Regions from separate parts of the Homo sapiens genome. Here regions 1, 2, 3, 4, 5 and 6 are each linked to region 7. The links are contacts of gene promoters, found by promoter capture Hi-C in human tissues and cell types (Jung and others, 2019). All regions are on one chromosome and are shown on one strand. The core of a region is centred on a gene start or on the middle of the fragment in contact, and the rest is flanking DNA. Distances in the headings are between cores, read along the strand shown.

Evidence for each region. Contacts are between HindIII fragments. The study calls those that stand out against the background at their distance.
Region 1: a fragment that was not itself captured here is called in contact with the fragment with the promoter of ANKS3 in region 7 in 1 of the 25 tissues and cell types used here (dorsolateral prefrontal cortex).
Region 2: the fragment with the promoter of CORO7 here is called in contact with the fragment with the promoter of ANKS3 in region 7 in 1 of the 25 tissues and cell types used here (dorsolateral prefrontal cortex).
Region 3: a contact is called between a fragment that was not itself captured here and the fragment with the promoter of ANKS3 in region 7, in 1 of the 25 tissues and cell types used here (dorsolateral prefrontal cortex).
Region 4: a fragment that was not itself captured here is called in contact with the fragment with the promoter of ANKS3 in region 7 in 1 of the 25 tissues and cell types used here (dorsolateral prefrontal cortex).
Region 5: a contact is called between a fragment that was not itself captured here and the fragment with the promoter of ANKS3 in region 7, in 1 of the 25 tissues and cell types used here (mesendoderm cells).
Region 6: a contact is called between the fragment with the promoter of SRL here and the fragment with the promoter of ANKS3 in region 7, in 1 of the 25 tissues and cell types used here (spleen).

What each region holds. Positions count from the first base shown.
Region 1 is chr16:5,023,773-5,026,691 of GRCh38, forward strand. It overlaps NAGPA (N-acetylglucosamine-1-phosphodiester alpha-N-acetylglucosaminidase), which reads right to left. Exons shown (of 10, transcript NM_016256.4): 10 at 1,072-1,913. The coding sequence ends at 1,706. Among named protein-coding and RNA genes, the nearest start is that of NAGPA-AS1, 8.5 kb to the right of the region's middle. RefSeq lists a silencer at 1,636-1,930. The HindIII fragment of the contact is 7,059 bases long and covers 1-2,919 here.
Region 2 is chr16:4,415,185-4,418,138 of GRCh38, forward strand. CORO7 (coronin 7) reads right to left here and starts at 1,412. Exons shown (of 28, transcript NM_024535.5): 1 at 1,275-1,412. The coding sequence starts at 1,334. It overlaps CORO7-PAM16 (CORO7-PAM16 readthrough), which reads right to left and starts at 1,412. Exons shown (of 31, transcript NM_001201479.2): 1 at 1,275-1,412. The coding sequence starts at 1,334. LOC124903635 (a long non-coding RNA gene) reads right to left here. Exons shown (of 3, transcript XR_007064963.1): 3 at 1,541-1,777. The HindIII fragment of the contact is 38,450 bases long and covers 1-2,954 here.
Region 3 is chr16:4,998,980-5,001,874 of GRCh38, forward strand. It overlaps SEC14L5 (SEC14 like lipid binding 5), which reads left to right. Exons shown (of 16, transcript NM_014692.2): 9 at 1,676-1,764; 10 at 1,876-1,946. Among named protein-coding and RNA genes, the nearest start is that of NAGPA-AS1, 33 kb to the right of the region's middle. RefSeq lists a silencer at 2,248-2,439. The HindIII fragment of the contact is 4,501 bases long and covers 1-2,895 here.
Region 4 is chr16:5,083,842-5,087,028 of GRCh38, forward strand. It overlaps ALG1 (ALG1 chitobiosyldiphosphodolichol beta-mannosyltransferase), which reads left to right. Exons shown (of 13, transcript NM_019109.5): 13 at 909-3,187. The coding sequence ends at 1,040. EEF2KMT (eukaryotic elongation factor 2 lysine methyltransferase) reads right to left here. Exons shown (of 8, transcript NM_201400.4): 8 at 443-1,891. The coding sequence ends at 1,791. Among named protein-coding and RNA genes, the nearest start is that of EEF2KMT, 12 kb to the right of the region's middle. RefSeq lists an enhancer at 387-1,299. The HindIII fragment of the contact is 5,127 bases long and covers 1-3,187 here.
Region 5 is chr16:4,458,780-4,461,730 of GRCh38, forward strand. It overlaps NMRAL1 (NmrA like redox sensor 1), which reads right to left. Exons shown (of 6, transcript NM_020677.6): 6 at 2,915-2,951. Among named protein-coding and RNA genes, the nearest start is that of NMRAL1, 14 kb to the right of the region's middle. RefSeq lists a silencer at 756-956. The HindIII fragment of the contact is 5,078 bases long and covers 1-2,951 here.
Region 6 is chr16:4,240,444-4,243,592 of GRCh38, forward strand. SRL (sarcalumenin) reads right to left here and starts at 1,637. Exons shown (of 6, transcript NM_001098814.2): 1 at 1,564-1,637. The coding sequence starts at 1,624. The HindIII fragment of the contact is 19,223 bases long and covers 1-3,149 here.
Region 7 is chr16:4,732,739-4,735,570 of GRCh38, forward strand. ANKS3 (ankyrin repeat and sterile alpha motif domain containing 3) reads right to left here and starts at 1,533. Exons shown (of 18, transcript NM_133450.4): 1 at 1,200-1,533. It overlaps DNAAF8 (dynein axonemal assembly factor 8), which reads left to right and starts at 1,799. Exons shown (of 10, transcript NM_139170.3): 1 at 1,799-1,960. RefSeq lists silencers at 1,319-1,378, 1,429-1,658. The HindIII fragment of the contact is 29,621 bases long and covers 1-2,832 here.

The DNA.
Region 1 (2,919 bases), core at 316-2,815, 290 kb after region 7:
CTCCTTTTTAAGAGGCAGAGCCCGTTTCCCTTCTCCCTGAATCTGAGCTGGCCTGGTGACTTGTGCAGGCGCCCACCAGGGCTGCCAGATCTTTAAAGAGAAACCAGCAAGCTGGAATTTTTGTCAATCTCTGGACTTTTTGAGATGGAGTCTTGCTCTGTTGCCCAGGCTGGAGTGCAGCGGTGCGATCTCAGTTCACTGCAACCTCCACCTTCCGGGTTCAAGCGATTCTCCTGCCTCAGCCTCCTGAGTAACTGGATTACAGGCTCCCACCACCATGCCTGTTTTGTATTTTTAGTAGAGACGGGGTTTTGCCATGTTGGCCAGGCTAGTCTCGAACTCCTGACCTCAGGTGATCCGCCCACCTCAGCCTCCCAAAGTGCTGGGATTACAGGCGTGAGCCACTGCACCCCCGCCCTTATTTATTTTAAAATCTCTTGACTTTTAAACATGGGTAACTAATTTAAATTCTATAAAAATACTGTGAGGAAAAACTAAGCCCTGGTCATTCAAATTATGGTCAGGGGCCAGGCGCAGTGGCTCGAACCTGTAATCTCAGCACTTTGGGAGGCCATGGCAGGAGGTTGACTTGAGGCCAGGAGCTTGAGACCAGCCTGGGCAACTCAGTGACACCCCTTCTCTGCAAAAAAAATTTTAAAAATTAGCTGGGCATGGTGGCATGTGCCTATAGTCCCAGCTACTTGAGAGACTGAGGTGGGAGAATCACTTGAGCCCAGGAGGTCAAAATTGCAGTGAGCCGAGATCGTGCCATTGCACTCCAGCCAGGGCAACAGAGCGAGACCCTGTTTCTAAGAAAGACAAGAAGTGTGGTCTGGGGACCTGAAGCATCAGCATCGTCAGAGAGCTTGTTGGAAACGCAGAATTGCTGGCCTCACCCCAGGCCCAAATCTGCATTTTAACAAGATCTCCTCGTGACCTGTGGCATATTAAAGTTTGATAAGCACTGGATTAAACAAGCAGGGAACAGGACTTGGCTCCAGGATGCCGTTGTGACTTCTGTTTCAGGATAAGCCACACCTGCTAAGCCCTAGCAGTGACCTAAGTCCATGATTCAGAATCCACACACCACCTGGTGGCTCCTTTTATTATATCAATTTATTCAAGTGATTAAAAAACTTCTTGGCAGCAGGATGACAAAACAGGTCTGTAAACATGATCTCATCCCCCCATCCCTTCTTCCAAGGAGCTTCCTATGACAGGAAATCGAATTCTAGTTGGCAAATCCAGTGATGAGGTCTGTAGAAAAGGGGTCCCGTGTCACAGCCAGGAAGGCAGACTCGTCCCTTTAACCCACTCCAGCCAGGGGTGCTGGCCAGGATGTGCTGTTCTGTCATGACGTGGTCACTGAGTCTGGTTCGTTGGCAGCCCCTTCCCCAGGAGGAGGGAGACTCTTTGGCAGTGCGGCAGCCCTCCCGGGGGCACGGGCTTCTCGGCAGCAGACACAGGCAGGCCAGAAGCAGGCAGCTGAGCCTCTCCAGCGAGCATGGTATTGCTAGGGTTGCAGGTGCCCTGGCAGGTGGCCAGGTGAGGGGCTGAGGCACAAGTGCTATCAGGAACTTGGCTGCCCCACAGGGGCTGAGGACACCCAGATGGTCCACGCCAGTGGCCTTGAAATTTCCCCTGCAGAAGCCAGACCGTGGGGAAACAAGCTTTCGCGACGTGCCACCCCGGGCAGCTTGAGGCTTCAGTCCTTGAAGGGGTTGTGGGCGCCCCCTGGCTGCTCCTTCTCTGCGGCCAGAGGCTCCCCGTTCATCTCCTGCAGCGGGTGGTATGCATAGTCCCCATGCAGGCGCCGGTTCCTCTCTGCTCTGGACAGGAGCAAGGACAGGTTTGCTGCAGTGCTGATCAGCAGGAGGAAGGCCAGCGCCAGGGTGAGGGCTAGCCAGGCGGTCCTGCAGACAGGAGAGAAGCCCCAAGTGGGGGACTGCTGGGTGGGCTCAGGGCTTGGGTAGCACTGGAGGGGCTTCCCTCTACCCGGCATAGATAGCACTAAATCAGGTGCCTCCAGGGACCACACAGGGAATGTTATGAGCAAAATGGACTAGGTGGGGATGGGGCAACATTTAAGACATGTGCAGGGAACAGCAGAGGCAGTCATGACGTACAATGCAGGTCCGTGCTGCCCCATCTCCTGATTTTTTTTTTTTTTTTTTGAGACAGAGTCTCGCCCTGTCATCCAGGCTGGAGTGCAGTGGCATGATCTCAGCTCACTGCAATCTCCGCCTCCTGGCTTCAAACGATTCCCCTGCCTTGGACTCCCGAGTAGCTGGGACTACAGGCTCGAATCACCACGCCTGGCTAATTTTCGTATTTTCAGTAGAGACCAGGTTTCACCATGTTGGCCAGGCTGGTCTTGAACTCCTGACCTCAAGTGATCCACCTGCCTCGGCCTCCCAAAGTGCTAGGATTACAGGCGTGAGCCACCACGCCTGGCCTGATATTTTAAGAGAAGCCATTAAAAAGGTTTTTAAGGCTGGGCGTGGTGCTCATGCCTGCAATCCCAGCACTTTGTGAGGCTTAGGCGGGCGTATCACTTGAGGTCAGGAGTTCAAGACCAGCCTGGCCAACATGGCGAAATCCTGTCTCTACTAAAAATATGAAAATTAGCCGGGCACCTGTAATCCCAGCTACTCAGGAGACTGAGGCAGGAGAATTGCCTGAACCCAGGAGGCGGAGGTTGTGGTGAGCTGAGATCGCACCACTGCACTCCAGCCTAGGCAACAGAGTGAGACCCCGTCTCAAAAAAAAAAGTTTAAAAAAATGTGAATGTTACTGATTTTTAGATGCTGCTGATATATTTTAACTTTTTAAAAATTATGTAAGCCAAATAAAACACAGCTGGATGCTGGGCATGGGGGCTGGGAGGCCAAGGTGGGAGGATCACTTGAGCCCAGGACT
Region 2 (2,954 bases), core at 162-2,661, 320 kb before region 7:
CAATCAGAATAAAACCCAACTTCTTCCGGTGGCCCTTGGGTTCTGCAGGACCACTCTGGACTCATCTGTCACCATACTGCTCCGGCCATCCCCTCCATCCACTCATGCTCACTTTCCATTTCTCCACCAGGCTCTTTCTCAATTCTCACCCTTCTGGCCTCAGCTAAAATGCCATCTACTCCAGGCAGCCTTTCCTGACCACGCTACTGAGACTGGCCCCCTCCATTCTCCATCCCAGTCCCTCATGTGTGTTCTTCAATGTCGTTATGAAAACCTCCAATGCTCTTGTTTGTCTGCTTGCTGTCTCCCTCATGAGGCTACAAGTGCCACAGGGGAAGGAAAATGCCGTTGTGTTCACCGGGATGTCTCCAGCAGCTTAGCACAGCATAAAGTGGAAGCAGAGGAAATATAGTCCACACTACAAAAACGGAACCTCTACCCAGACTGCCCTGACTTGCTCTGGGACCCTGATGGGGTCACTTGAGGTCAACTCCTAGGCCCAGTTATCGGAGGACACTCCCAGGCCTTACAAATAACACGGAAAGCGGAAGAGCAGAGCTGACATCGTTTCCAAGGCGCACCCCTCATCAGTCCTCCTGCCGTTTCGGGGGTCCGAAGGGTCTCCCGGCACCTGGCTCAGCAATTCTTTGGGGCTCCACCTGCTCAGGCTTCCCCAGGCCCCACCCAGCCGTGGCAGCATCACCGAGATAAAGAAAGAGCTTGCGCCAGCGGCGAGAGGAGGAAGCACCGGCGGAAACCCGAGGGAGGGGCGCGTGCGGCCGAGGGGCTCCCTCCCCACCACTGACACACTTGGGCTCGCCGGGGCCAGAGGAGAGAGGGGCGTCTCCCCACAGCCCAGCCAGGGGCAGGGGCGACCCGGGGCGGCAGGGAGGAGGAGCCAGGCGCCGGCAGCGCCCCGAGCCCCGGCTCCCGGCGAGGCCGACCGGAAGCTGGGAAGGCAGGCGGCCTCGCAGGCCTGGGCCCCGGCTAGGAGGGCTGCGCCGCCTCGGGGGTCCCGGGGCGAGGTGGGCGAGGCGGGCAGACCGCCAGGGTCACCGAGCGCCAGAGCGAGTCACGGGAGTGCCGGACTCTGCCCTCCGGCGGCGACGAAACGGCCCGGACGCCGGGGCCCTGGCCTGAAGGGGGGTTCCCCGGGGATGGAGGTCTCGGGGTTCCAGACGGCCCTGGAGGGCACCCCTGTGGGGTCCGGGCAGGGGGAGGGGCAGCCGGACGGGGCCCGAGGCGACAGCGCCCGGTCCTCGGGCCGGACTCACCTCGCGGCGGGGCGGCCGAGCCTCGGTGTGCCGGAACTTGGACACCCTGAAGCGGTTCATGGCGACGGGCACGGCGGCGGACGCGTCTTCGAGGACCCCGGGCGTCGGGTCTCAGGTGCACGCTGAGCAACCGCGACTCCCGCTGCCTCGGCCCCACCCGGGACCCAATGCCGCGGTCACGCCCCCGGCGCGCCCCACTGCCAATCGCAGCCGTCTCCGGCCCCCTGGGCCACGCCCCCAAGCCCCTCTCCTTTCGCGCGCGCACCACCGGTCCCGCCTCCCGGCCAATCCAGGTACGGCCGCCCCGCGAGGCCACGCCCTGATACCGAGGGGACGGACTGGCGCGGGTGGGAGGTCACGTGGGGCGCAGCTGTCAGCCCACGTCTCCTGCGGTGCTTGCTTGCGTGGGGTCTCGGCTGCAGCATTCGCGATTTTGTGTGCAGGATTTGCTGTGGAGTCTTTGCGGTGTACCTAGCACGCCTTCCAGCACTATCTACCTCTTCCTGTAGAGAGGGGAGAAATTAGCTCCATTTCAGAGACAGGAAACCCCCGGCTAAAGGAGAGTGTAAACTGTCGGTCCCCAGGTCACACCAGTGGTAAGAGGCAGAGGGGGAACAGGGGCCCAGGTCTAAAGCAAATCCCTGTCCACCGGGCCTACTCAAAAGCCTCTGCATCCGGCCAGGCGCTCTGCATCCGGCCAGGCGCGGTGGCTCAGGTCTGTAATCCCGAACTTTGGGAGACTGAGGCAGGAGTATCCCTTGAGCCCAAGAGGTCGAGGCTGCAGTTATCTGTGACCGTGCCACTGCACTCCAGCCTGGGAGACAGAAAGAGACCCTGCCTCTAAAAATAATAATAATAATAGCTTTTAATTTTTCTTTAGTATTTATTCATTTATTTGACACGGAGTCCCTGTCACCCAGGCTGGAGTGCAGTGGCGCGATCTCAGCTCACTGCACCCTCTGCCTCGCGGGTTCAAGCAATTCTCTTGCCTCAGCCTCCCGAATAGCTGGGATTACAGGCGCCTGCCACCGCGCCCAACTAATTTTTTATTTTTAGTAAGAGACGGGGTTTCACCATGATGGTCAGGCTGGTCTCGAACGAGACTCAAGCAGTCCTCCCAACTTGGCCTGCCAAAGTGTGGGGATTATAGGAATGAGCCAACGCACCCAGCTGATTCTTGCATTTCTAAGGTTTGAAAAGCAATGCTTACATTTTATCTTAGTTCGGGCAGAAGTGTATTTACTGTGAACCAAAGTCACTTGTGGTTTATTGAAAAGGCTTTTTGTTTGTTTGTTTTGAGACAGAGTCTCACTCTGTTGCCCAGGCTGGAGTGCAGTGGTGTCATCTCAGCTCACTGCAACCTCCACCTCCTGAGTTCAAGCGATTCTCCTGCTTCAGCCTCCCAAGCAGCTGGGATTACAGGTGTGCGCCACTACTCCTAATTTTTGTATTTTTAGTAGAGATGGGATTTTGCCATGTTGGCCAGGCTGGTCTCAAACTCCTGACCTCAAGTGATCCACCTGCCTCAGCCTCCCAAAGTGCTGGGATTAGAGGCATAAGCCACTGCGCCCAGTCCAAAAAGGTTTTTAGAAAATCATCAGGTTGGCCGGGCGCGGTAGCTCACGCCTGTAATCCCAGCACTTTGGGAGGCCAAGGTGGGTGGATCACCAGGTCAGGAGT
Region 3 (2,895 bases), core at 250-2,749, 270 kb after region 7:
GCCCATCACGCATGCTGTCTGCTGAAGTTGAATGACGCGGCTCCTGCCTTTTTGTTTCAGTTCTCATACCCTAAACGAGTGTCCTTTTTGTGGCCTATTTAATGCCACATTGTTGCATTTTTGGGCTTTTCTTTGGTGACTTTGCTGTTTAAAATGCCTCTTCGTGTAGTGCAGAATTGCGCCTAGCTTTCCTAAGGATGAGCAAGTGGCCACGTGCTCCATGCAGAAAACACCCAAAGTGCTCCACTAGCTTCAGGCAGGCACCAGCTACAGGGCTGCTGGCCGTGAGTTCAATGCTGACAGATCAGCAATATGCATTCAAGTGTCCTTAAACAGAAACACAAGCCGGGCGCAGTGGCTCACACCTGTAATCAGAGCTCTCTGGGAAGCCAAAGCTGGAGGATCGCTTAAGCCCAGGAGTTCGAGACCAGCCTGGGCAACATAGTGAGCTCGCCCCCCTCCACCACATCTCCACAAAAAATACAAAAAAATTATCTGGGCATGGTGCTGCATGCCTGTGGTCCCAGCTACTTGGGAGGCTGAGGTGGGAGGATTGTTTAAGCTGGGGAGGTTCAGGCTGCAGTGAGTCGAGATCATGCCACTGCACTCCAGCCTGGGTGACAGAGTGAAACCCTGCCTCAAAGAACAAAGAGGCCAGGCATGGTGGGCTCACGTCTGTAATCCCAGCATTTTGGAAGGCCGAGGCGGCAGATCACTTGAGGCCAGGGGTTCGAGACCAGCCTGGCCAACATTGTGAAACCCTGTCTCTACTAAAAATACCAAAAATTAGCCAAGCGTGGTGGTGCATGCCGGTAGTCCCAGCTACCTGGGAGGCCGAGGTGTGAGAATCGCTTGAACCTGGGAGGCAGAGGTTGCAGTGAGCTGAGATTGCTCCACTGAACTCCAGCCTGGGTGATACAGTGAGACTCTGTCTCAAAAACCAACAAATCAACCAACTAACAAACCAACAGACAAAAAACACCACATAAAACAAGGTTATATATTGATTGGTTGACAAAAAGTATTATGGGGCCAGCTGCGGTGGCTCATGCCTGTGATCCCAACACTTTGGGAGGCTGAGGTGGGTGTACACCTGAGGTCAGGAGTTTGAGACCAGCCTGGCCAAGATGGTGAAACCCCATTTCTACTAAAAATACGAAAATTAGCCGGGTGCGGTGGTGGGCGCCTGTAATCCCAGCTACTCGGGAGGCTGAGGCAGGAAAATTGCTTGAACCTGGGAGGCCGAGGTTACAGTGAGCCGAGATCGCACCACTGCACTCCAGCCTGGGTGACAGAGCAAGACTCTGTCTCAAATAAATACATAAATAAAAATGTTTTGTAGAGAAGAGGTCTCATTATGTTGCCCAGGCTGGTCTCAAAACTCCTGTGTTCAAGCAATCCTCCTGCCTCTGCCCCCCAAAATGCTGGGGTAATAGGTGTGAGCCACTGTGCTGGCCCTTATCCTCATTGTAACACTTCTGTTTTTCTGCCTTTCACAATAAGGGGCGTCAGCCCCTCTTGGAAGCAGGCAGGGTGTTAGTAAGTGAAGGCTGGATCGGGCCTTGGTGGGTTGCAGCCTGAGGAGGTGAAGCTCTCACCTGCAGCTGTGACCTGCCCCTCGGAAGCAGTCCTCTAAATAACGGGCTCTTCTTTCTGCTTGGCCCCATCCACAAAGATGGCCGCCCCCTCTACATCCTCCGCCTGGGCCAGATGGACACCAAAGGCTTGATGAAGGCCGTGGGGGAGGAGGCGCTGCTGCGGCATGTGAGTCAGGGGCCTCGTTCCTGGACGCCGTGCCTGGGGCCGGGCCTGGGAAGGACTGTGTGGGGTAAAGCAGCGAGGCGGACGTTGAGCAGCACTGTCTCTCCCTTCCAGGTTCTCTCCGTCAACGAGGAAGGACAGAAGCGGTGTGAGGGGAGCACAAGGCAGCTGGGCCGTCCCATCAGGCAAACACCTGGGCTGGGCACAAATCCCCCCTAAACAGCAAAGACGGAGGGTGGAGAGGGGTCCACTGTGCATATGTGCTGGGCTGGGCAGCGTGCCAGGGGCTTCATTCTCCCCCAGTTTCTACAGTGGTCTTCTGGGCCTTGAGGCAGGGCCCGTAAGCATCCCCGTTTTCTATGCATGGGGAAACTGAGATTCAGAATGGTGGCCCCCATCGAAGCTTGTGAGCCGGTCAGGACAGAGCTGGATTTGAACCTGGGGTCCTGTCTGGCTTCTAGCTCGAAGACTTTATCCTCCCACTCCACTCAACAGTCTCCTTGACTTTGCTTTTTTTTTTTTTTTTTTTCTTTTTTGAAACGGAGTCTCGCTCTGTCGCCCAGGCTGGAGTGCAGCGGTGCAATCTCAGTTCACTGCAAGCTCTGCCTTCCGGGTTCAAGCGATTCTCCTGCCTCAGCCTCCAGAGTAGCTGGGACTACAGGCACCCGCCACCACGCCTGACTAATTTTTTTGTATTTTTAGTAGAGACAGGGTTTCACTGTGTTAGCCAGAATGGTCTCGGTCTCCTGACCTCGTGATCCGCCTGCCTCGGCCTCCCAAAGTGCTGGGATTACAGGCGTGAGCCACCACTCACAGCCTGACTTTGCTTTTTGAGATCAGCTCTCCACCACGAGTTCTCCCTTGGCTCTGTCATGGCACATCCAGGAACCCAGTGTCCTCTGCAGGAACCCACTGTCCTCTGACTCCCCCGCATTTCTGTTCCTGAACTGTTTCCCGGAGCCAGTACTTACGGTGGCATCGCCCCCAAAGGCAGCAAACCTTTCTGAGCAGCAGCTTCCTCTTCTGTAAAGTGGCTTTTTTTTTTCCTTTGAGACAGGCTCTCACTCTGTCACCCAAGCTGGAGTGCAGTGGTGCAATCACAGCTCACTGCGGCCTTGACCTGCTGGGCTCAAG
Region 4 (3,187 bases), core at 1-2,500, 350 kb after region 7:
GCCAGGGTGGGACCATGTGGGGTCTGGCGGAAAAGCTAGGGAGGGAGCAGAGGTCACAGAGGCTGGCCCACTCTGCTGTCCCGTTTCGGTACAGTAGGCTCGGGAAAGTTAAGACACACCCCCACCTGCCCTCTGGATTTATGGAGCTGACACTCCACAAATGATGCTGGAGCTGGGTGGGCCGGGCTGCGGTTGAGGAAGTGATCAGGATCACGTAGGTGGGCGGGCAAAGGGAGCTTCTGGGACCAGCCTTGAAAGATGGGTGGAATTCTGCAAAGGTTACTTGTTTCTTATTGCAAAAAGTAATACATCATTCTTGCCAACAGAATGATTGGCAGGATTTTCAGTAAAGGTCCAGGTCGGAAGTCGTTTAGACTGGGTTCCCCAGTCTCTGTCAGAACCATGGTACTCTGTTGGGGTGTGAAAGTAGCCACAGATCATCTGTAGATTAAGGGGTGTGGCTTTGTTCCAATAAAACTTTATTTACAAACACAGGCTGTGGGCTGGATTTGGCCTGCAGGCTGTAGTTTGTGATCCTTGATTCAGACAGTTTAGCAAGGCTGCAAAGAACACCGACACCCCCTTGTTACCCACAGATGGGTGAGACTGCGTTGGCCAGAGGCCGAGAGGAGGGTGCTCACAGGGGAATGGGCAGCACGTAGAGGCCGGGAGGTGCTCCAGGGCACCAAGTGTGGGAAAGTGGGACATGCGGGGAAGTTTCCAGAAACTGTGATGTCAAGTTGGAGGCGGAGTGCTGCTGGGGTGTGAAGGGTCTCGAGTCCAAGTGAGGGAGTTAGGGACTTGGGAGGGGTTGTTGTTGGGTCGGGGACCTGGGGTCAGCCAGGTGGTGACCTGGGATGGGGTGGGGACAGGCAATGAGGTAAGCTCTGCTCTTTATTTTTTTGCAGATGCTTTTCTCAAACTTTCCTGATCCTGCGGGCAAGCTAAACCAGTTCCGGAAGAACCTGCGGGAGTCGCAGCAGCTCCGATGGGATGAGAGCTGGGTGCAGACTGTGCTCCCTTTGGTTATGGACACATAACTCCTGGGCCAGAGGCTAAAACCCCAGGACCCCTGCTGTCCTTCCCGCAGCTTCTTCTTGGAGTCTCAGGGCAAACCCTTTCGAGCAGCACCTCCCAGTGGCCAGAAGCTGAAATGACAGCAGTGGTACTGCCTGGTAAAAGAATTGGTTCTGTGACCCGGGAAGCTTTGGTTGGCCTTGATTTCTTCTCTGGAGGCTTGGAAACGCTTCCTCTCTTCTTCTGTTCTTCACGCCCCATGCCCCTGCTAGCGTATTACTGTTCTGTGACTTCCCTGTGACCTCTGCAGAACTCCTCATCCTGCGTTTGGTCTCCAGGTGTCCCCTTTCTGCCGTGTTCCTAACATTTTGATTCCTGTCTTGAAAAAAGCACCTGCTGCACCGTAAGCCCAGGGATGTGGCAGCTGCAGTGGGCTTGGCTTTGTGAGGAACTGAGTGTGTCCACGTTGGGGGAACATCATACTTGATACACACGTTTTTATTTGCACAAAGAAAATGCTATTTTTGGAGCCAGAATTTTCATGTCTGATTTATGGTGATTTTCTTAAGAACCAGAACTGCTGGCAGAAAGGGGGCACCCACACGCTTAGATAGCCGATGTCTTATTAGAGGGCAGTTTGTGGTTCCTGATTTGGAAATTAACATTCTCCAAACATTCCAGTCCAATGAAAGTTTTATCCGCTTTCCCATATAAAAATTCTTCCCATGAGAGTGACTTGATTCTCACAATCCCGTTGGAGTCGTGTGTGAGTCCTACAGGGTGAGATTCAGCATTGCCATCTCCAAGTGCTCTTCGTAGGGAAACAGTTTCTGCTCATGACGAGGTTCCACTTCCCATCTGATCCCGGCCCGGCCTGGAAACAGAGCACATGTGTTTGAGGATGGCGGTGTTTGGGGACAGGACATGAGGGTATTGTGTGGGGCTGCTAGGACAGGCCTGGCGGGGTAGGGGGGTGTCCAAGTCAGTTTACTTGGTTCACAGGTTCCCAGGCCCACCCAGGTGCCTAGAATTGGCCTCCAGGATGGGACCAGAAAGCTGGTTTTGCATAGAAATGGCTAGCAGCAGGCACCGTGCCGCTGTCCACTCTCTGCCTGTGTCTGCCCCAGCACTTGGCACAGCGGGACAGAAGCAGAGATCTGAATAGTCAACCCACTCTTCACAAAGCTTAGAAAGCGGCCGGGCACAGTGGCTCATGCCTGTAATCCCAACACTTTGGGAGGCCAAGGCGGGCGGATCACTTGAGGTCAGGAGTTCGAGACCAGCCTGGCCAACATGGTGAAATCCCATCTCTACAAAAATACAGAAATTAGCCAGGCATGATGGCGAGTGCCTGTAATCCCAGCTACTTGGGAGGCTGAGGTGGGAGAATTGCTTGAACCCAGGAGGTGGAGGTTGCAGTGAGCTGAGATTGTGCCACTGCACTCCAGCCTGAGTGACAGGGTGAGACTAAGTCTCAAAAAAAAAAAAAAAAAACCACACGCACCACACACACACCCACACACACACACAGCTTAGAAGGGGCTGCTGTTCTCATAAGCACAGATGTCTGAAGAGCCGTTAGCCAGAATGATTCTTTTTTTTTGTTTTGAGATATGATCTTGTTCTGTCACCCAGGCTGGAGTGCAGTGGCACAGTCATTGCTCACTACAGCCTCGACTCCTGGGCTCTAGCAATCCTCCCACTTCCTGAGTAGCTGGGATGACAGGTGCGTGCCACCATGCCAGTAATTTTTTTATTTTGTAGAGATGGGGTCCTGAACGCATGGCCTCAAGTGATGCTCCTGCCTCAGCCTCTTTTATTATTTGTTTTTAGACGAAGTTTTACTCTGTTCCCCAGGCTGGAGTGCAGTGGCACAATCTCAGCTCACTGCAACGCCTCCCAGGTTCAAGTGATTCTCCTGCCTCAGTCTCCCGAGTAGCTTTGACTATAGGCGTGCACCACCACGCCTGGCTAATTTTTGTGTTTTTAGTAGAGATGGGGTTTCACCATGTGGGCCAGGCTGGTCTTGAACTCGACCTCCCGTGATCTGCTCACCTCAGCCTCCCAAAGCCTCAGCCTCTTACAGTGTTGGGATTACAGGCGTGAGACACTGTGACCCGGGACGATTTTCAATCACAGTTTTTTGTTACGAGTGGAAAATGCGTATTTA
Region 5 (2,951 bases), core at 452-2,951, 270 kb before region 7:
GGCGGATCATGAGGTCACGAGTTCAAGACCAGCCTAGCCAACATGGTGAAACCCTGTCTCTACTAAAAATACAAAAATTAGCCAGACTTGGTGGTGGGCGCCTGTAATCCGAGCTACTCGGCAGGCTGAGGCAGGAGATCCGCTTGAACCCTGGAGGTGGAGGTTGCAGTGAGCCAGGATTGCGCCACTGGATTCCAGCCTGGGTGACAGGGTGAGACTCCATCTCAAAAAAAACATTAGGAGGGTGGACAAGGCCAGCTCTCAGGCATTGGTCCTCAGCCCCATTCCCACCTCAGGCCTGGGACTGGGTTGTTTCCAACCTGAGCCCCCTCCTCACTCATAGTCCTTTGGGTTCTGGTGGCCTGGCCTTTGTTTCCTTCCCTGTCAACCAAACAGTGTGCAAGAATTCTCTCCAGGCCCACAGGCCTCCAGCTGCCCCTGCCCCTCTGTGTTTGTAGCACTGCAGAGCCGGCTCTGATGTGGAGGACGGCAGCTGCACGGCTCCTGGAAGAGGCTTGTTTCACACTCTTGCTTGTTAATAAATACTGTGCAGGTCTTATCTTTTAACTAGAAGTTCTGCTTATTTCTCATGACTCTTCAAGGGTCACAAATGGGCCAGGGGGGAACATAAAAGGCGAAGTGGGTCCATAGTTATATGGCCAAGGGCATGATCCACAGACCTTAGCTTACTGGTCACCTCCCCCGATGCTGCTCCTGTCCCCATTTATTTATCCTTCCTGTTTTGTTTTTTGCAGCCCTTATGTCAATTTGTTTTTTGGGTTTTGTTTTGTTTTTGAGACAGGCTTTCACTCTGTTGCCCTGGCTGGCTTGTGGTGGTGCAATCACAGCTCACCACAGCCTTGACCTCCTGGGCTCAAGTGATCCTCCTACCACAGCTTCCTGAGTAGCTGGGAGTACAGGCACATGCCACCACGCCTGCCACCATTTCTTCTGTTTTTTTGTTTTTGAGGCAGAGTCTCCCTCTGTCGCCCAGGCTGGAGTGCAGTGGTACAATCTCGGCTCACCACAACCTCCACCTCCTGGGTTCAGCTGATTCTCCTGCCTCAGCCTCCTGAGTAGCTGCCGGCACACGCCACCACGCCCAGCTAATTTTTGTATTTTTTGGTAGAGACAGGGTTTTGCCATGTTGACCAAGTTGGTTTCGAACTCCCAACCTCAACTGATCCACCTGCCTTGGCCTCCCAAAGTGCTGGGATTACAGGCATGAGCCACCACGCCTGGCCCTAGTTTCTTTTGTATTTCTTTTTTTTAGGTAGAGATGGGGTCTTGCTATGTTGCCCAGGCTGGTCTCGAACTCCTGAACTCAAGCCATCCTCCACCTCAGCGTCCCAAAGTGCCGGAATTACAGGCGTAGATACATAACTATTTATTGTGTGTTTCTATCAGGCTCTCCCACTAAATATAAGCTCCTCAAGGCAGGCAGCATAACTTTTTTTGCTACATTGTATTTAGGGCCCAGCATACTGGTAAATTGTCAAAGAAATGCTTCAGTCAATGGATAGAATGAATTTTTGTGCCTGGGGGTGCCAGAGCCAGGGTGGGGAAGTAAAAAAATAAAAACTGTGATGGTAGTCACACAAACCTAAATGTGTTGAATTGAAATTCACAGAACTGCTGGGCTCAGTGGCTCATACCTGTACGATAATCCCAGCTACTCAGGAGGTTGAGGTGGAAGGATCACTTAAGCCTGGGAGGTGAAGGCTGCAGTGAGCTATGACTGTGCCACTGCACTCCAGCCTGGGCAACAGAGCGAGACCTTGACTCTTTAAAAAAAAAAAAAAAAAAAAAAAAAATTGGCCAGGCGCGGTGGCTTATGCCTGTAATCCCAACACTTTGGAAGGCCGAGGCGGGCGGATCACGAGGTCAAGAGATCGAGACCATCCTGGACAATATGGTGAAACCCCGTCTCTACTAAAAATACAAAAATTAGCTGGACGTGATGGTGCATGCTTGTAATCCCAGCTACTCGGGAGGCTGAGGCAGGAGAATCACTTGAACCCAGGAGGTGGAGGCTGCAGTGAGCTGGGATCGTGCCACTGCACCCCAGCCTGGGTGACAGAGGGAGACTCCGTCTCAAAAAAAAAAAAAAAAAAAAAAATCGGAGCTGCCATGGACCACAAACTCTCAGGCAAATAACTGGTCTCTCGGCCTCTGACCCTCTTCTCTGTGACCCACCCCAGCAAGCAAGGTGGGTTGTTTCTCCTTCAGTTTTGCTTCCCAGCAGTGTCCAATTACTGTGCGTTGTGGACCACAGCTCTGCCACATCCGATTTTCCTTTTTCCAACCTGTTTGAAGTTCACCTGTGTCCAGGATGGTACCCCAAGGCCGGCTCCTTCCAGGACAAGGATGAGGAGAGAAAGGGAGAAGCCCATATCTCCCCCGCCTCCCTGCAGAGCCTGTCTCCAGTTCACATGTGCAGATGGCCTCACTAGCTCTGGAGATGAAAGGGGTGTGTCAGAAGCTCGGCTCCTGGGGCTCCTCTGTGTCCTGTGCTATGTCCCCGTCTGTGAATGAATTTCAAATGTGGGAACAGAGGCTGCTGGTCAGAGCTGTTCTGCTAGCTGAGGTCAGAACAGGCCACTTCACACCTGTCTGACTAAACACGTTTAGGTCACTCGTCCCAGTCACCAAGTGATCCCTTCAGCCTTGGACCCTCCCTTACTGCTGTGTTGGTACAGCCCTGGAGCCACCCCTTACTGCTGTGTTGGTACAACCCCGGGTCCCCTCACTTACTGCTGTGTTGGTACAGCCCTGGACCCCCCCCCCCCGCTCCAACTTACTGCTGTGTTGGTACAGCCCCGGACCCTCCCCAACCACTTACTGTTGTGTTGGTACACAACTACCACCCCAACCCAAGTCCTGGAAGCAGAGTCCTCTTCTCCTGGAAGCCATCTGGGAGAACAATGGCTTTATTCAGATGTTGGTGCCTC
Region 6 (3,149 bases), core at 387-2,886, 490 kb before region 7:
CACAGTGGATGAAACCCACAGCCCAAGTGCTGAGCAGGAGCAGGGACAGAGGGAAGCTTTACGCCGGAGGTTGGGCCAGGGGCAGACGCACGCTGTGGGACCCAGGAAGGAAAGACAGCAGAGAGAAGGGACCTTTGCACAAGCACCTGCCTGCGTCCTTTCCCCACGACAAGAGCCCCCAGCGAGGCCTGCAGAACATTCCAGATGACCAGTTCCCTCGGTGGGAGGAAAGATAAAGGATGTCCCTAAAAGGCCAAAAATTCCTGGGGCCCAGTGTGTAGCAGCCCAGCAGCTGGGGCTGGGGGGCAGCACAGGAGCGGCCACGAAGGGAGAGGGTGGCAGCGGCTTGGGGCTCCGGATCCAATTACGCGGCTGTTTCCATACTTAGCCGCCTGACAGCCGCCTGGAATACTCAGCACTCAAGCCGCTGCAGCCCTGCAGAGCCCAAATTAACTCAAGGACAGACAAGGGCAGGGCCCAGCAGCACATGCAGTGGCTGGAGCCCCCCACCTTACATCTTGAGTCCCCGAGAAATAGCTTTTGTTCCCACCCACTGCCTGCTCTCCCTGCAGGGACTGTGCCCCTGCAACCCCCTATTCAACCTCAAAGACCTGAGAGGCTGGACTCTGGGCCTCTCCAGTCCCAGGTACGGACCTAGGCTCAGAGCCCAGCTTGGGGGAAGACTGCCGAGTCATGAAAAGACTCGGTGGGCAGTCCGGATCCTAGGGGGATCCCCGGAGCACCTCCCTAAAAGCATTCCCTCGGGGAACCTGGCCTCAGGAACCTTAGGAACAAGAGAGGTGGCAAAACAATCTGGCATCTCCTCCATAGCCTATAGATAACCCCCATGCTGCAACCCAAGCCACCACCTCTGCTACCCAAAGTGCTGAGATGTCAAAGGGAAGCCTCAGCACACAGAGCCAAGCCCCTTTTCTGATGGAAGCCCCCACCCCGAGCAGAGGCTCTACTCCAGAACGGGCCCCGTTCCTCTTCTGAATTGCATCCAATGCTGTTTCCAGCCCAACCGCCAACTCTATTTCCGATCTTATCCCAAACCAATTCCAATTCTATCTCACTGCTCCCAAAACGGTCCCCACCTTTGCCCACTGTATCCCCTTCTGTCCACGCAAACCCAGTTCTCTTACCCGAGTGGGGCCTCCGCCTTATATCCCACCAGGTGGGAGGGTCACCTCAACGACCTCCAGCTCCCAGACTGTGCTATTTTGTCCGTCTCAGAGGCTCCCCCGTCTCGACTTTGAGGGCCCTCTTTCCCACATCTACTGGCCAGACTCCTCTCTGACCCTGGCTCACAGCTCAGCTCTGTTTGCCGTTCCCACTTCCTCTGGCCTTCCTGAGGGCCCCGCAACTGTGCTGCTATTCTCCAGCACCCAGCTCTTTCTCTGAGGCCCCAGGCCCGGGGAAAAGAGAAGGGTAAGAAGACACCAGCCAAGAGCCAGGGTTTGCCATCAGCCCCGACCCCCTACCCAACCCATGGTAGACAGAAAACCTTGGAGGAAGCGTGGGGGACCAGTCTGGGCTGGGTCATGCTGGGAGGGGCCCTACCTGCTTGTCCTGAGAACAGGAGCGAGGCCAGGAGGCAGCCGAGCAGGACCAGCGCCCTCATGGTGACTGCCAAGAGAGCCCAGCTGCTCCTCGCCTCTATTTATACGGCCGGCCGTGGCAGCAGGCGGTGGAGGGGGGAGAGGGGTCACACAGTCACCAGGGCAACTAGGAGGGTGTGATGGGGAAGAAGCCCGGACCCCAGAAGGCTGTGCAGAGGCTCAGGCTGCGCCACTGCTGTCCCAGCTGCCAGGCCCCAGAAGGCAGGGCCGTGGCTGGATTCTCTTCCCCCGAACCCCTGCAGCCCTGGGATCACATGACATGGGTCACAGGGCGTGGGTGACAGGCATAAAATGGAGCATCCCTTGGGCTCAGGCGGTGGAGCTGGGAAGCTGAGTCTTCCCAGAACTTGCAATAACTTGACCTGAAGTCTCGGCAGGTTAAGGACCTTGACACGCCTGCACTGGAAGGAGGAAGTTGTAAGGCCACGCAAAAGAAATCCTATTTAACAGCCACTGATCCACATGCTAGAGAGTGGTCAGCTACGGCAAACCCGCAACATGTGACCTCTGAGGTCCAAGGCTGCAGCCCTGGAACAACCTTCCCAGCCTCTGGAAGAGAGAGAGCACAGACCAGAGGGAGAGGGGCACACTGAGACACAAGCTGAGGCTACGGTGTAAACTGGAGGATGGAGCAACAGATATCCATTTCCAATGGCCCAGGGGTTCCAGAACATTCAGTCACCTCTGCAAAGTGCTTTTTTGTTTATTTGTTTTTGATAGAGGATCTCGCTCTGTCACCCAGGCTGGACTGCAGTGGCACAATCATCACTCACTGCACTCGACCTCCCAGGCTCAATCAATCCTCCCAACTCAGCCTCCCAAGTAGCTAGGACAGTAGTGCCACCATGCTGTACTAATTTTTTAAAATTTTTTGTAGATGGCCCAGAGAGCCAGTTGTAAGAAGCCAAGGGAAAGCAGACACTTGCTTGTCTGGTCGGGGTACAGTGTCACTGTGTGGGGAAGAGGTAGAAGCCAGCCTTGGAGGAAAGGAACTAAATCAGGGCCAGGCACAGTGGCTCACACCTGTAATCCCAGCACTTTGGGAGGCCGAGGCGGGTGGATCACCTGAGGTCAGGAGATTGAGACCAGCCTGGCCAACATGGTGAAACCCCATCTCCACTAAAAATACAAAAATTACTGGGTGTGGTGGCGGGTGCCTATAATCCCAGCTCCTCAGGAGGCTGAGGCAGGAGAATCACTTGATCCCAGGAGGCGAAGGTTGCCATGAGCCAAGATTGCACCACTGACTCTAGCCTGGGCAACAGAGCGAGACTCTGTCTCAAAAAAAAAAAAAAAAAAAAAAAGAATTAGGCATCTGGTAGGCACTTGACTTTTTTTTTTTTTTTAATCTTTTTTAAGAGACAGGGTCTCTGTCACCCTGGCTGGAGTAGTGACACGATCATAGCTCACTGCAGCCTTGAACTCCTGGGCTCAAGCCACCCTCTCACCTCAACCTCCGAGGGGCTGGGAATACAGGTGTGCACCACATCTGGCTAATTTTTTTGTTTTTTGCAAACATGGTCTTCC
Region 7 (2,832 bases), core at 283-2,782:
GTGGTGTAAAGTAGCATTAGAGATAAGACGTTTTAGTTTTCATTCAACTTTTTGGTTCTGTCCATTCTGAAAATGCTAAGTATCTGTTACCTTTACAGTGAATCCTAAAGAAAATGTGGTACTTAGACACAATGGAGTACTATTCAGCCATAAAAAAAGAATGAGATCCTATCATTTGCAAAAACATGGATGGAAGCGGAGATCGTTATGTTTAGTGAAATAAGCCAGGCACAGAAAGATAAATATTGCATGTTCTCAATTATTTGTGGTTATCTAAAAATCAAAACAACTGAACTCATGGACATAGAAAGTAGAAGGATGGTTACTTCTAGTGTAACCAAGGCTGGGAAGGGTAGTGGAGGGTGGGGATGCTTAATGGATACAAAAAAAACAGAATGAATAAGATCTAGTATTTGATCAAGCCACTGCACTCCAGCCTGGGCGACAAAGCGAGACTCCGTCTCAAAAAAAAAAAAAAAAAAAAAAAGATCTAGTATTTGACCGCACAACAGGGTGACTATAGTCAATATAATCTAATTGCACATTTTATTTATTTATTATTATTTTTTTTGAGACATAATCTCACTCTGTTACCCAGGCTAGAGTGCAGCGGCGTGATCTCGGCTCAATGCAACCTCCGCCTCCTGGGTTCAAGCGATTCTCCTGCCTCAGCTTCCCGAGTAGCTGAGATTACAGGTATGAGCCACCATGCCAGCCTAGTTTTCGTATGTTTAGTAGAGACGAAGTGTCCCCATGTTGGCCAGGCTGGTCTCAAATCCTTGACTTCAGGTGATCCGCCCGCCTTTGCCTCCCAAAGTGCTAGGATTACAGGCGTGAGTGAGCCACCGCGCCCGGCTGCACATTTAAAAATAATTCAAAGAGTATAATCATATTGTTTGTAACACAAAGGATAAATGCTTGAAGGGATGGAGACCCCCATTTTACATGTGATTATTACGAACTGCATGCCTGTATCAAAATCTCTCATATACGCCATAAATATATACACCTACTACGTACCCACAAAAATTAAAAAATTTTTAAAAATCTTAACAAATGTGATGCTGGTGGTAACTGTCACGCCCACAGAGGAGGTCTGTGAAAGCACCCAGGCACCCCCTCTCGCCCCGTGGAACCGCATCGCAAAGGTAGCTCACTGGCCCCGGGGCGGGTCCCTGGCCGACAAACCCGTAACTCACAGCAGTGACGCTTCCCGACGCCCCCCGGCCACATCCCCACAGGAACGCTACGGCGCACAGGGCATTACTGTGCCCCCACCACAACCACATAAAGAAAATGTGGGGGCTCGGTCCTCCAGTCACGCGGCGAGCAAGTGCAGCGCGGGACGCCCGAGCGCCGGGTCTAGGCGGGCTGCAGGTGCCGGCAAGTGCTGGGGCCGGGCCGCCGCGGAACCCACCTGTGCTGGGCCTCAGGCCTTGCGCCGCCCTCGGGCTGCCGTCGCCAACCCCCCCCAAACAGCTCGCCGCCACGCTCCCTCGCCGGGGCACCGCCCCCGGCACCCGCCCCGGAAGTAGTTGCGGGAGGGCGCGGAGCACGCCGGGAAGCTCGCGGGTCGGCACCGGGACAGCTCCCGGGCGCCGTGGAATGCACACGTCCCGCACCCGGACCTTCCGGTCAGCTTCCCGGCTCGCTGTCTGATGCCCGCGGTAGCCAATGAGCTAGTGGTGTTTGTCCTGCTCCGTCCCCGCCCTCCAGGGGAACCAATCCCATTGCAGGAGAGGCAGGACGCGCAAAGGCCCGAAAGAGGAGCTGGGCGGGGTGGGGGGAAGGCGGAGGCAGTCTAGTAATGTAAAGCTCCGCTGAGAGGGAGAGTGCTGAAGAAGGGGACAGCCTCTGTACCTGCGGCGCGGCCCGAGGGGCGGACGCGAGCGGAGTGACGCGCTGGAGGCTGTTTATAGCGCTGTCAGGACAGCGCGGGGAGTGGAGGCAGAGGCCTGAGGTGAGGGGCCTCGGGCCTGCTGCGCCTGCAGGGAGTTGAACAAAACGCGGGGAAATACGGGCTGGGGGTGGGTGAGAGGAGGAGCGATGGGCTTTCCACTTCCACAGCTTTAAAATTTAAAAGCTCGACCCGGGAGGCTGTTGGCGTCTGGTTGCCATAACAACCGGCAGCCTCGTGGCAGGCCGGCTGGGGGCGGGGCTCTGAGAACCGGGGCGGGGCTGTGGCGGGGCTAACAGGCTGCAGCTGAGAAACCCACCCCGAGACGGAGCCGGAAGGCCGTTATTCAGAGGCGGCTCCGAGCCTCCCCTTCGCCTTCTGGATGCTCTGAGCTCCTCAACTTGGCGTTCAGGGCCCTGCATTGTCTGGTCCGTTTTCACCGGAGAGTCCAGCAACTGACACTTTCTTCCCTTAAACCTGTTGGGCGGTTCATTCCTTTGAGCTACTGTACATGCTCTTCCTTCTGCCGGTAATGCCGTTCCCTCCCCTATTGTCTTGTCCGCCTGAAGGGTTTATCAGAGTCTCTGGAGGCCCTCTTCATCCCGACGATTCTGTTGCCCTAAGAAATACTGTGCCCTGAATTGCGGAACAGAGCTCTAGTTACAAAAAACACCCGCTGGCTGTGTGCACCAGATGCGTCCCCAACCCGCTGCTCCCAGTTCAGAGTGCACCAAGCACCTGCCCTATTCCCAGAAGTACAGAGGAAGCAAGCAGCCCCCAATTCACATCTCCTGCCGCTGCCCTGATTGGGGATGAACGGGCACTGACTGCAGGGCCAAAGCCACAGCGGCCTCTCGAGCTGCAGAGTTCTCCTGACACTGGCTCTAGAGGACCCTCACCCCCCAGCTCTCAAGCTCAAGCTCCCCAGCCCCCTG